Regions from separate parts of the Homo sapiens genome. Here regions 1, 3 and 4 are each linked to region 2. The links are contacts of gene promoters, found by promoter capture Hi-C in human tissues and cell types (Jung and others, 2019). All regions are on one chromosome and are shown on one strand. Each heading gives the region's core, a stretch centred on a gene start or on the middle of the fragment in contact. The rest is flanking DNA. Distances are from core to core; before and after follow the strand shown. Region 1 overlaps ICA1L (islet cell autoantigen 1 like). Region 2 holds the start of NOP58 (NOP58 ribonucleoprotein). Region 3 holds the start of MPP4 (MAGUK p55 scaffold protein 4). Region 4 overlaps NBEAL1 (neurobeachin like 1).

Region 1 (3,172 bases), core at 611-3,110, 580 kb after region 2:
GCCACTGGCCCCACCATAACTTCCACCCAGGACACCCCGAAAGATGCTGCTGCCCACTCGGGAGAAGCTCAAGGAGCTGATGCAGGCACCGGGCCCACGCGCATAGGAGCAGTTGCCGAAGGCCTGGGGGCCAGAGGACCACCTCTGGTGGACACCTTGTAGGACTTCTGGGTCACCATGATGGACATGGTTGATGCAGGAGTGGAGGCAGGTGGGCTGAACCAGATGGAGATCCCAGAAGGAGCAGGGAAGCTGCTTCTTGGTCTATTTTTTTTTTTTTTTTAGATAGAGTTTTGTTCTTGTTGCCCAGACTGGAGTGCAGTGGCATGATCTTGGCTCCTTAACCTCCCAGGTTCAAGTGATTCTCCTGCCTTAGTCTCCCGAGTAGCTGGGATTACAGGCACCTACCACCAGGCCCAGCTAATTTTGGTATTTTTTTTTAGTGAAGACGAGGTTTCACCATGTTGGCCAGGCTGGTCTCGAACTCCTGACCTCAGGTGATCTGCCTGCCTCAGCCTCCCAAAGTGCTGGGATTACAGGCATGGGCCACCGCACCAGGCCTATTGCAGCCATTATTTTTAATAGTTTTGTTTTTTAACATTCATATTAAAGACCCACCATTATACTATTATTCTAAATTTGTGTAATTGTACCAATGAGTTTTATACTTTTAGATGTTTTTGTGTTACTCATTAGCATCCTTTCCTCTCAGCTTGAAGAACTCCCTTTATCATTTCTTGTAAGACACATCTGGTGGTGATGAACTACCTCAGTTTTTGTTTGAGAAAGCTTTTATCTCCATCATTTCTGGAGGTCTACTTTGTCAAGTAAAGTATTGTTGTTTGACAGTTTTATTTTTTCCTTCAGCACATGGAATTTATCATCCCACTCTCTACTGGCCTGTAGGTTTCTCCTGAGAATCCACTTCTAGCCTTATTGGAACTCCTTTGTATGTGATTTGCTTTTCTCTTGCTACTTTCAGGATGCTCTCTTCATCTTTGATTTTTGACAGTTTGATTATATCTTAGTGTAATCTTGTTCAGGTTGAATCTGATTGGAGACCTTTGACCTTCTCATACCTGGATATTTATACCTTTCCTCAGATTTGGAAATTTTTCTGCTATTATTTATTTAAGTAAACTTTCTGGTCCTTTGTCCCTCTCTTCTTCTGCTTAAACTCCTATAACTAGGATATTTGCTCTTTTGAGAAAATCTTATAAGCTTTAAATCTTCTAAGCTTCATTTTTTCTTCTCTGACTGTATGTTTTGAAATAATCTGTCTTTGAGTTCACATATTAATTCTTCTGCTTCATCAAGTCTGCTGTTAATGCTCTCTACTGCATTTTTTAGTTCATTAATTGTATTTTTCAGCTCCAGAATTTGATTTTTTTAAAAAAATAATTTTAATCTGTTACATTTCTTATTTTGGTCATCTATTGTTTTGCTGATTTCAGTGAAATGTTTCTCTGTATTTTTCTTTAAATTCACTAAACTTAAAGCAATTATTTTATATTATTTGAGAGGCAGTTTATATATGTCCATTTCTTTGGGGTCAGCTACTGGGAGGTTATGTTTTTTAGGTGGTATTATGTCTCCCATTTTTCTTGTTGCCTTACATTAATGTCTGTGCTCTTAGTGGAACAGTTACCTTTTGTAGACTTTATGGGCTAGTTTCATTGTGGACTGACTTTCCTCCATGGGGTGGGGTGCAGTGGTTCTGGCACTAGTCAGGGTGCCAGCTGTGTGGTCTCTGTGCAGCTCTGTCTGCTGAGATTGGTATGGATAAAAATCACAGGGATCCATAGCAACCAACGTTCTGAGTTTCTGCAGTGGCGCAAGAGTTGTTGGGGTCTTTGGTGGCAATGACTGCTAAGATCACCCCAATCTATTTTTTTTCCCATCAGAGAAGCTATGGCTGAAGGGATCCCTCTTGGCACTGGTGCCTGATGAGTAGCACCCATGGAATAATCACAGAACTCAGGCCTGATGCACAAATGTGTGGAGGTACTGCAGTTCTGAGTTCCCAGGTAGTAATGGCATTGGTGTCTGGGATGCAGGGATCCTTGCTGCTGTGTAACAGAATGCGAGATGCAGATGCTTGTTAAACAGCTAAGAGAACTGAGAATAAGAGCACTAGTGAGTGCAGCATTAGAGTAGCTCTAGGATTGGGGTAAAGCCAAGATCTCTGTGGCAGCAGAGCTGGTACCCAGCGTTCAGCCACACACAGCAAGAGCTTGGCTCTAGGGCCCAGGGTGCAAACTCTTTAGCTGTATACTTTTGACAAATGGATATCTTATATAGAACATTTCCAACTTCCCAGAAAGTTTCCTTGTATCACTTTCTTGCCAATCCCTACCTTATCAGAAGCAATGAATGTGTTTTTTTTCCTTAGCTTTTCCCAGTTTATTCTTTTTGATTGTTGAATAGAATTCCATTGTATCAATATACCAGTGTTTCCAGTTTGGGACTATTGTAAATAAGGCTGTTATGAACATACCTATACAAGTATTTTTGCAGAAAAATGTTTTCATTTCTCTTGGATAAAAATCCAGAATTGGATTTGCTGTGTCAAAGGATTGGTGTACCAGCCTCAGCAACAAAGTGAGACCCCATCTCTACCAAAAATAAAAAAATTAGCCATACATTGTGGCATATGCCTGTAGTCCCAGCTACCTGGGATGCTGAAGTGGGAGGATCACTTGAGCCCAGGAGTTTGAGGCTGTAGTGAGCTATGAATGTGCCACTGCACTACAGCCAGAGGGACACAGTGAGACCCCATCTCAAAAAATCTATAAAAAAAGAAAATTAAAATTAAAAAAATAAAAAATAAACAAATAAGGAGTAGCAGCTGGAGGCCAACATATAATTTTTGCTACTGACAATGGTCAAGTTTCTGGATATAGCTTACTGTGAGAGCCAAATAATCTTCATAACCGAGCACTAAAATTAAATTCAACAAGCCAGTCAGAGGTAACTGAATCACCAGAGGCTTCCCTGTATGAGAGAAGAAAGAAGGAATTGAGATAAACTTGCCCAATTTTTGCTTCCCAAATTTACCAGACAAGCCACTCCTCCTCTAGAAAGAAATGAGAGGGTAGAGAGAGACTAGGAGTTAAACTAATTGAGCTCCTTTAACATAGGAGGAAACGTCAAGAATGAGAAAGATATATTC
Region 2 (3,481 bases), core at 566-3,065:
GGCTTCCAGAAAAGCAAGTAACACTAAATCAAGAAGACAGTCTAAATTCAGCCCCGCACAGTGGCTCATGCCTGTAATCCCAGCACTTTGGGAAGCCGAGGTGGGTGGATCACCTGAGGTCAGGAGTTCGAGACAAGCCTGACCATCATGGAGGAACCCCATCTCTACTAAAAATACAAAATTAGCCAGGCGTGGTGGTACATGCCTGTAATCCCAGCTACTCGGGAGGCTGAGGCAGGAGAATTGCTTGAACCCGGGAGGCAGAGGTTGCAGTAAGCAGAGATCATACCACTGCACTCCAGCCTAGGCAACAAGAGTGAAACTCCGTCTCAAAAAAAACAAAGAAGAAAAAGAAAAAAAAAAAGACATTCTAAATTCATACCCTGGGGTCATTTTAACAAATGCAGCAAAAATAGGAGAGGCTTATTGAAAGAAAACTGTGCTAATAATTCATTTGGCCAGACAGAAGGGAACGGCCAGGAATGCTCACAAATATAGTGACAGTAATGGTGTCATTCTGAGGCCTTCGCCTCAAGGCAGGGCTTGAAAGGGGATAAAGTCTAATGGCACTAGCTGGCATTTCAAATTCTAGATGCCTGAGGCAGACTGGCACCGAAACAGCTCCTCGTTTCTCTCAAAGTGAACATATAATTCATAGAGGGTTAACAAAATAATATCGTGAAGTTTTTCCCCTTTAAATCTCTAGCGGTGGCGGGGCGCGGTGGCTCACGCCTGTAATCCCAGCACTTTGGGAGGCCGAGGTGGGAGGATCCCTTGAGGTCAAGAGTCCGAGACCAGCCTGGGCAACATCGTGAAACCCTGTCTCTACAAAAAATTAGCTGGGTGTGGTGGCACAGGCCTGTAGTCCCAGCTGCTCCGGAGGGTGAAGTGGGAGGATCGCTTGAGCCTGGGAGTTGGAGGTTGCAGTGAGCCGTGATAGTGCCACTGCACTCCAGCTTGGGCAACAGCCAGACTGTCTCAAAAAAAAAAAAAAAAAAAAAAAAAAAAAAAAAAAAGGCCGGGCCTAGTGGGTCACGCCTGTAATCCCAGCACTTTGGGAGGCCGAGGCGGGCGTATCACGAGGTCAAGAGATCGAGACTATCCTGGCCAACATGCTGAAACCCCATCTCTACTAAAAATACAAAAATTAGCTGGGCGTGGTGGTGTGTGCCTCTAGTCCCAGCTACTGGGGAGGCTGAGGCAGGAGAATTTCTTTTTTTTTTTTTTTTTTTGAGACGGAGTCTCGCTCTGTCGCCCAGGCTGGAGTGCAGTGGCAGGATCTTGGTTCACTGCAAGCTCCGCCCCCTGGGTTCAGGCCATTCTCCTGCCTCAGCCTCCCGAGTAGCTGGGACTACAGGCGCCTGCAACCACACCCGGCTAATTTTTTGTATTTTTAGTAGAGACGGAGTTTCACCGTGTTAGCCAGGATGGTCTCGATCGATCTCCTGACCTTGTGATCCGCCCGCCTCGGCCTCCCAAAGTGCTGGGATTACAGGCGTGAGCCACTGCGCCCGGCTAGGAGAATTTCTTGAACCCGGGAGGCGGAGGTTGCAGTAAGCCGAGATCACACCACTGCACTCCAGCCTGGGTTACAGAGCGAGACTCCGTCTCCAAAAAAGAAAAAAAGAAAAAAGAAAAAAAGGCGCAAAGGCTCCGTTCAGGCCCTAGATCCCGCGATACAAACTTTCTCGGCCCGCCCCAGCCCGCTGTGGCGGGAACATTCTGGAAGTGACGGCAATCTCTGCGGCAGTCTTCTGTCGGAAGTGACGTTGCTATCCCAGAATCCTCAGAGAAGGAGTAGCGCGTTCGTGCGTCCTAGTTCCAGTACAGCGTGGAGGGTTTAGGCAGCGTGTTCTGATTCTTTGCGGGACGGCGAGCGCATTTGTGCTTTGCCCGCCGCGGCCTAGGAGGCCTTTTGAGGCCGCGTAGTCGGTGTTTTTGAACTGACTCTACAGCTTCTGGCAGGCCGTGCGGCGCCCTGACCCGGCCTCACCATGTTGGTGCTGTTTGAAACGTCTGTGGGTTACGCCATCTTTAAGGTAGGTGGGAGAGCGAGCCGTTAAAGGGGGAAGGCGGATGCTGGACAGACGAGGAGAGGGAAAGACTTAAGCACGGAACTACTCAGAGTAGCGTGGGTGCCTGTTATAGCCCGGGCTCTGGGAGGAGGGAGAAGGCCTTTACACCTGAGAGCCATGTTACGTGTAACACGTGGCCCCGCCGTTTGGGGAGACCCGTTCTGCATTAGAGGATTTTATTTCCTCCCGTTGAAGGGGTGGGCAGGAGGCGTGTTAGAATTTAACAGATTATAGGGAATTCGGACTTTATTCTAGATGTTTTGAGGAATGATCGAAAGATTTTTTTTTTTTTTGAGATGGAGTTTCGCTCTTGTTGCCCATGCTGGAGTGCAGTGGCGCAATCTTGGCTCACTGCAACCTCCGTCTCCCGGGTTCAAGCGATTCTCCTGCCTTGGCCTCCCGAGTAGCTGGGATTACAGGCCTCCATCCACCACCACGCCTGGCTAGTTGTTTTTGTTTGTTTGTTTGCTTTTAGTAGAGACGGGGTTTCACCATGTTGGCCAGGCTGGTCTTGAACTCCTGACCTCAAGCGATCCACCTGCCTCGGCCTCCCAAAGTGCTGGGATTACAGGCGTGAGCCACCGTGCTCGGCCAATCGAAAGGATTTAAGCAGAGGAATGACCTGCTAATTTGTCTTAATACGGTTACTCTGCTGTGTGGAGATTAGACTCGAGGAGATAAGAACGGCAGCAAGAATACTTTTGCATTCATTTGGACAAGATGAAATTGCCTGGTATGGAGAGAAACAAATATCGATAGAAATTGTGAAGGTAGAACAGGAAGGACTGGCTAATAGATTGAATGTGGGGTTTTGGTTTAAATAAGATGTTAAGAAAGTTTCTTGGGGAAGGACTAAAGATTTCCGGTTTGGGCTGTGCGAAGCTTGCGTTGTCTATTAGACCTGATAATGCAGTTGTGTAGATCGGGCAGTTCAGTATTTCAGATTTGAAGCTTAGGGGAAAACATCTGGGCTGGTGATGTCAGTTTGAGGTTTGGTTGTTTTCGTGGGGAAAGTTTGACAAGTTCGTCAGCACTGAAATGGTTGAATGGTAAGACATTCGTATCGCAAGATGCTGTTGAGATGTTAGGAAGAATGAGTGAGATTGAGTGCCTTTTCTTGTGCGGTGCAACTCTTCTGAGGTCTGTGAATATAGCAATGAAAAATAAAGTTTTTATGTATATTCTACATATATATATGTTGGTAGAAAGCAAAAACGCTAGGTAAAAATAAATGTAATACAATTTTAGCTATGAACCAAAAAACCATTTGTGGTGTGGATGCAAGAAAGTCTGGATGGGTGCAGAGTTCTCCATGTTTCACTTCTGACATTTGAAAATACGCAGTTTGCATTTGATACGTCAAATGTTATTTTTAAGAAAACCAATAAAATCATTAAAACCGAAAA
Region 3 (3,203 bases), core at 362-2,861, 570 kb before region 2:
AAGGTCATGAGGTAGAGGCCTCAAGATGTCATTAGCGTCTGGGTAAGAGCCATCAGAGTTCATGTGTTCTCTCTCTCCCTGCCAGATGATGGCACAGTGAAAACGCGGCCATCTGAAAGCCAGGAAGAGAACCCTCGCAAGAACCCAACCATGCTGGCATCCCAATCTTCAACTTCCAGCCTCCAGAACTGTATGAGAAAATACATTTCTGTTGTTTAAGCCACTGTCTATGGTACTTTGTTATGACAGCCAAAGCTAAGACAAAACTCATAGAAAAAAACTTCCAGAAAATGATTTTCCCTCCCTCCAGGTAGCTAAGAAAACAGTTGCAACTTCTTGCCCTCATAGCACTTCTCATTTTCCCAGTTCTTGTATCCACTGGCTTGCTCAGTGTCTGTCTCCCGCAGGTGTCATGTCTGCAGAGGGCCTGGGGAGCAGAGATGTTGCTTATCTTGTTCATGCTGCAGCTTCACCTGCAACAGTGCTTGGGCCATAGCAAGCACTTGGTATGTTCAGTTGTTGTTGGGAAGGGGTAGAACAAGGAGAGGCCAAGATCCAGAAGTAAAAGGCTGATACCTCCCTCAAGGCAGTAGCCAGCAGCTGGGACTTCAATCCTAATGGGGGAGGCAGCTGAACTCCAGAGGCCTGTGCCCTCCCTTCCTTTCCTCCCTGGCCTGGTATCCTGACTTAAACCTCTTTCCCTATCAAACTTTAAAACTGGGGGCAGAAGCGGATCTTAGAGATAATCAAATGCAAAACCTTTGTTTTACAGATAAGGAATCTGACATTCAAGGAGGTATTCAGTAGAGTTAACATGTAGTAAAATCGAGTTTTCCTCTTTTGTTTCCTTAGTCCTGAAAGATGCTGATGCCTGGCATGATGCCTGGCAAAAGACTTACCTTCCTTTCCATGACTTCTGTACCAAATTTGTCAGTTGAAGCTTATCTATTTCTGCTATCTTGAGAGTGAGAATTCTTGATTGAGACTGCAAATAAGTAAGCACCCACCACATGCAATTCCGGACTGAGTACACAGAAAGGATAGCCAGTTCTTGACTCAGAAGATGCATTAGTGTGACTGATGCCTAAGGAATTTGTCCTAAATCTTGTTTTAAAAGTATTTCCATTAGCTTTTTAAAACGTACTATTAAATGCCACAACCCCCTACCCTTACTATGCTTGTTTTTCAAAATAGTGCTTTTTACTAGACAAACCCTAAAAAAGCACTTGGAAACTTAATGATGAGAAATGGCCCTTACAAAAATAGCTGGCTTCCTCTGGGTCCAAATGCTGTTGATTAGGACCAGGGCAAATGCCCATTGTACTCAATCTTCCTGACAACTCATTATTCCATACTGAAGAAATGGCTTCTCGAAGCAAAACCTGCTCTTTCAAGATCATAAAATTCCCCATATCATTTGAGTTAAAATGAAACTAAGCCATTTGAGTTAGATTACCCAGATTTATATCTTTAGCTATTAAAAACTGACAGGCAAGCTAGGCAGTTATGGATACATCTTCTGGTAACTGAGGATTATTTGCCAAGGTCTCTTACCTGCAAGACTGTAAACATGCATGTTGCTCCTATCCAGACAAAAGCTTTAGTAGGATACTAGTGGCCTGTTAGCTGCCAAAGTCACCTCACTGCTCCCGATAAAATCTCTGCACATCCTCTTTGATGTAATCCACAGATGCCTAACCCAGCCTAACAACTAAATTACTCACAAGCCTTTCCTGCCACAAATCTTCTTAAGTATTCCTTGAAGTCTAATTTGTATCATTTTCAAACCTACATTCTAGTATTTTCTCTCAAATTGCCAACACATAGTTAACGGCAGAAAAACATAGTATTTTTGTTGATTAGTTCAAGATGACAGACATTCCACAACAGAAGATAGCATTTTTAATGAAAGAAAAAAATGTGGCAGGACCGGAAATAAGCCAATAACCTACTAACCTTATTAAATCTCTCATGTTATGGTGAGAAAACAACTGAAGACTGTTCAGCTAATAATAGAAACCCATCAAAAACAGTACCTTCTGGTCAATCCCCTCCCAAGCCACTGTTCTGAACCTAACAAATAGTGCTTTCTGTCTCAGATAGGAGCTACTTCTTTATCTGAAAACTTAATACTGCAGGGAGTGCTCAGTGGGGAGAGCATTTGGAAGGGGATATTGCAGAAAGGAGAGGAAGGTATTGCTGACAGCAAGGCAAAAGGTAGAGACCAAATGGCAATTATCAGAGGGTCCTCAGCCCTTCTACCCATATTAATCACATGGCTTTCCTTATCTCTCCATCATAGATGAAAACACAAGTTGGGAATGTGATACATTTGTGTTTTGAGTACAGCATATTTTGTGAAAAGCACTTGATTTCAATAAGATTTTCATTTTTAACTCACTTTTAAGAACTTTCAATACATAACCAGCTATGAAATGACATCTCTGGCAGCTGTAGTAGCAAAAAGCACTGGACTTCTAGGGAAGTAGGGAGTAGGGAAGTTCTAGGCTGGAGTCCCAGCTCTGGCAGTGAGCAAATCTTGGTCACTGCTTGTCTGAAAAATGGGGGGAAATGGGGATAACACCTGCATCCTTGGGCTGCTGTAAGCATTCATTACGCATGTGAATGACCATTGTAAACTGCTGCAGGAGTGCCAAGGACTTCTATTTACAAACATTGGCCTGGAGATTTAGGGTTTTTCTTCCAATACACTTCAAAATTTATAACTTTAATATGCTATCTGAAAAGCATATAGTAGGAAGAATCCAAAGTAACTGAACAGTTTCATTCAAGACTCCAGTAAAAGGACGAATTGTAACATGGCTTTTCTTAGAACAGAGACAGCCTATCATCATTGGAAATCTTCTCAATGGGTCAATTTGTCTCAAAGTTTTTGTTTGTCCATTTCCACATATTATCCACCCCCGCCCAGAGTCAGAAATTCTGTAAATTTGGCTTTACCAGGCAAATGTGGTTATTTATGTGTTTGTTCAGAAACTCAAAACAATCTCCAATGTAAATGCAAAGTATTTAACATAAACGGATTTTTAAGGGTTGGTCCCCTTCCAACAGAGGACAGGCACATTCTGGTAGAGGCAGCAACAAGATGGAAAGGCCTCTTGAGAAAACATTACAACTGGGAGATAATTAATATCTAACGTTTCTAAGCAGAATTTTAAAGCCTCACCTTCCCTTCCCTCGAT
Region 4 (3,118 bases), core at 587-3,086, 760 kb after region 2:
GAAGATTTATGAAGGACTGCTTCCGGGCAGTAAGGTTAAGACCTCCTCCGTATTTGCCACAGTGCTAACCTTGGCACAGATATTCCACAGTGTATTAACAATAGGTCAATATTAAGGTACCTACCATCACAGCGTTTCTGTCAGGTTTTAAAGTTGTCCCTGAACATTGCAAAAGTTCAGTAGGTCTAGTAGTAGTACTACCTCAGAAATAACCCTTGGGTAATACTGCTTGGTCACAGCAATGCTAAAAGAACGCTAATGGAATATATATGTCTTCTGCCTGGGTTCAATTGTAAGCTTAAATACTAGTGACTAAAGTCCTTTAAGTAGAATTAAAATAAATTACCAGTTTCAGTTTTTAGCAGATGGAGTCCCAATATTTGAAAGAATTTGAGTATAAAACTTGGCAATTTATTTGATTTTATTTTTAATTGATAATAATTTTATCTGATAATTTTAATTGATAAATAATTTTAATTGATAATAATTTTAATTGATAATAATTTATGGGGTACAATGTAATGTTTTGATACATTGTGGAATCATCAAATCAGGCTAATTAACATATCTGTCACCTCACATACTTACCATTTCTTTGTGATGTGCAATTTGGTTTCTTACCAAACTTTTCAGGTCTAACTTCACTTTCTCCTTCTAGGAATAGGCTTTAATTAAATTGTTAGAAACATGTGTCTTCTTCCTAAAAGGTTACTTTGTAAACCTTATGTTGTTATTGTATAATACAAGCAGGATGATTTCTAATCACCCAACAGTCCTGCTTTCTAAAGATTCTTTCACCAGTGTATAAGACTATTAATTCAAGTTGTATAGTCTGAACCTAGGCGCAGTGGCTTATGTCTGTAAGGCTCACTGGAAGGCTGAGGTGGATGGATCATTTGAGATCAGGAGTTTGAAACCAGCTTGGCCAGCATGGTGAGACCCCGTCTCTACTAAAAATACAAAAATTAGCCGGGCATGGTGGCATGCACCTGTAATCCCAGCTACTCAGGAGGCTGAGGCAGGAGAATCGCTTGAACTTAGGAAACAGAGGTTGCAGTGAGCCGAGATTACGCCATTGCCTTCCAGCCTGGGTGACAGAGTGAGACTCTGTCTCAAAAAAAAAAAAAAAAAGAAAAACCCCAAATTATATAGTCTGAACTCTTCTTGCCTTCAAATGGTTGTCCCCACCCAGGGTCAAGGATTTGATTAACAGCACATTTCTTATAGCTCTTATAAGTTAAACATTAATTTGAACAGGTTTAATCTTGTATCTGGATTTTAGTTCAGTAGTTAACTACTTCTTGTCTGAGTGTATTTTTCTTAAGTATAGAAGTATTTTAATACTAGTACTTAAGTATACAGTTTTTTGTTTGTTTGTTTTGGAGACGGAGTCTCACTCTGTGGCCCAAACTGGAGTGCAGTGGCCCAATCTCAGCTCACCACAACCTCCAACCTTCTGGGTGCAAGCTATTCTCCTGCCTCCCTCAGCCTCCCGAGTAGCTGGTATTTACAGGCACATGCCACCAGGCCCAGCTAAATTTTTGTATTTTTAGTAGTGACGGGGTTTCACCATGTTGGTCAGGCTGGTCTTGAACTCCTGTTTTTAATAGAGATGGGGTTTCACCATGTTGGCCGGGCTGGTCTTGAACTCCTGACCTCAGGCGATCCACCCTCTTCAGCCTCCCAAAGTGCTGGGATTACAGGCGTGAGCCACTGCGCCCAGCCCAGTATTTTTTTTAATGTCTAAAGATTTCAGGGCAGGTGTGGTGGCTCATGCCTGTAATCCCAACACTTTGGGAGGCTGAGGCAGGTGGATCACTTGAGCTTGGGAGTTTGAGACCAACCTGGGCAACATGGTGAAACCCCATCTCTACCAAAAATACAAAAAAATTAGCCAGGCATGATGGTGCACACCTGTGGTCCCAGCTACTCAGGAGATAGGGTGGGAGGATTGCTTGAACCCGGGAAGTGTAGGTTGCATTGAGCTGAGATCGTGCCACTACACTCCAGCCTGGGTGACAGAGTGAGACCCCATTTAAAAAAAAAAAATTAGTTTATATATATGTAGTAGGCACCATGTTATTCACTGTATTTTTTGATAATTCACTTTTAACATACAGTAAGAGAGATGGTGCTGAGAACAATTTTTGTTTCTATATTATTATATACAAAGTTTTGAGACTCATATGTGTGTAGAAAAAGACATGTATCGGCTGGGCACAGTGGCTCACGCCTGTAATCCCAGCACTTTGGGAGACCAAGGTGGGTGGATCATGAGGTCAGGAGTTTGAGACCAGCGTGGCCAAAATGGTGAAACCCCGTCTTTACTAAAAATACAAAAAAAATTAGCCAGGCACGGTGGCGGGCACCTGTAATCCCACCTACTCGGGAGGCTGAGGCAGGAGAATCACTTGAATCCGGGAGGCAGAAGTTGCAGTGACCTGAGATCTCGCCACTACACTGTAGCCTGGGCGACAGAGCAAGACTCTGTTTCAAAAAAAAAAAAAAGAAAGAAAAAGAAAAAGACATGTATCATAAATTCCCTATCTCAACTGCAACCCTTGGACAGACTTAAGGACGTATTTCTATTAGACACTTAGCCTTTTGGGAGTGCTGCAGTTAGTTGGTCACTAGAATATGTAGAAAAAAGAAACTGAGCCTCTCAAAGTCTTAGATAAGATTAAGCTATTTTTGTTCTGTCTGGTGTAAAGTATCAAATGCGTTAACTGAGTAAAAACATACAAAGTGACTCAAAAGCACAGCATTTTGAAATGTGGCAGTGTAGATTGAAAACCATGGTTCATTTTTGTCATTAGCTTTAAAAAATTTTTTATTTTATTTTATTTTATTGAGATTGAATTTTGCCCTGAACAGTTTTGTGAAGCTGCAGTATTAGAGGTGATATTTAGTCCCAATTCTGTGTCTGATCTTAAGGACCTAAAAGGTTAACCTAGTTTCTTTGTATCTCAGTTTTCTCATCTGTCAAATGGAAAAACATAACTATTTTACATATCTGTCAAAATTTTTTAGAAAAGAGATTTTATTTAAATGTATTTTAAGAGGAAGAGAGATAAAAATGTAATCTTTATAAGTATTTTGCAGATGTGTGGGTGTGGAC

Evidence for each region. The method cuts DNA at HindIII sites, captures the fragments that hold promoters and counts their contacts. A contact is called where the count stands out against the background at its distance.
Region 1: a contact is called between a fragment that was not itself captured here and the fragment with the promoter of NOP58 in region 2, in 1 of the 25 tissues and cell types used here (aorta).
Region 3: a contact is called between the fragment with the promoter of MPP4 here and the fragment with the promoter of NOP58 in region 2, in 1 of the 25 tissues and cell types used here (H1 embryonic stem cells).
Region 4: a fragment that was not itself captured here is called in contact with the fragment with the promoter of NOP58 in region 2 in 1 of the 25 tissues and cell types used here (liver).

Annotation. Positions count from the first base shown.
Region 1 is chr2:202,841,594-202,844,765 of GRCh38, forward strand. The region is part of intron 1 of ICA1L (islet cell autoantigen 1 like); the gene reads right to left. It also overlaps the pseudogene KRT8P15. Among named protein-coding and RNA genes, the nearest start is that of ICA1L, 29 kb to the right of the region's middle. The HindIII fragment of the contact is 3,353 bases long and covers 185-3,172 here.
Region 2 is chr2:202,263,948-202,267,428 of GRCh38, forward strand. It overlaps NOP58 (NOP58 ribonucleoprotein), which reads left to right and starts at 1,816. Exons shown (of 15, transcript NM_015934.5): 1 at 1,816-2,039. The coding sequence starts at 1,995. The HindIII fragment of the contact is 22,419 bases long and covers 1-3,481 here.
Region 3 is chr2:201,697,033-201,700,235 of GRCh38, forward strand. It overlaps MPP4 (MAGUK p55 scaffold protein 4), which reads right to left and starts at 1,612. Exons shown (of 22, transcript NM_033066.3): 1 at 1,555-1,612. RefSeq lists enhancers at 2,242-2,743, 2,744-3,203. The HindIII fragment of the contact is 2,902 bases long and covers 1,270-3,203 here.
Region 4 is chr2:203,019,557-203,022,674 of GRCh38, forward strand. All of the region lies in intron 2 of NBEAL1 (neurobeachin like 1), which reads left to right. Among named protein-coding and RNA genes, the nearest start is that of NBEAL1, 6.2 kb to the left of the region's middle. The HindIII fragment of the contact is 6,368 bases long and covers 1-3,118 here.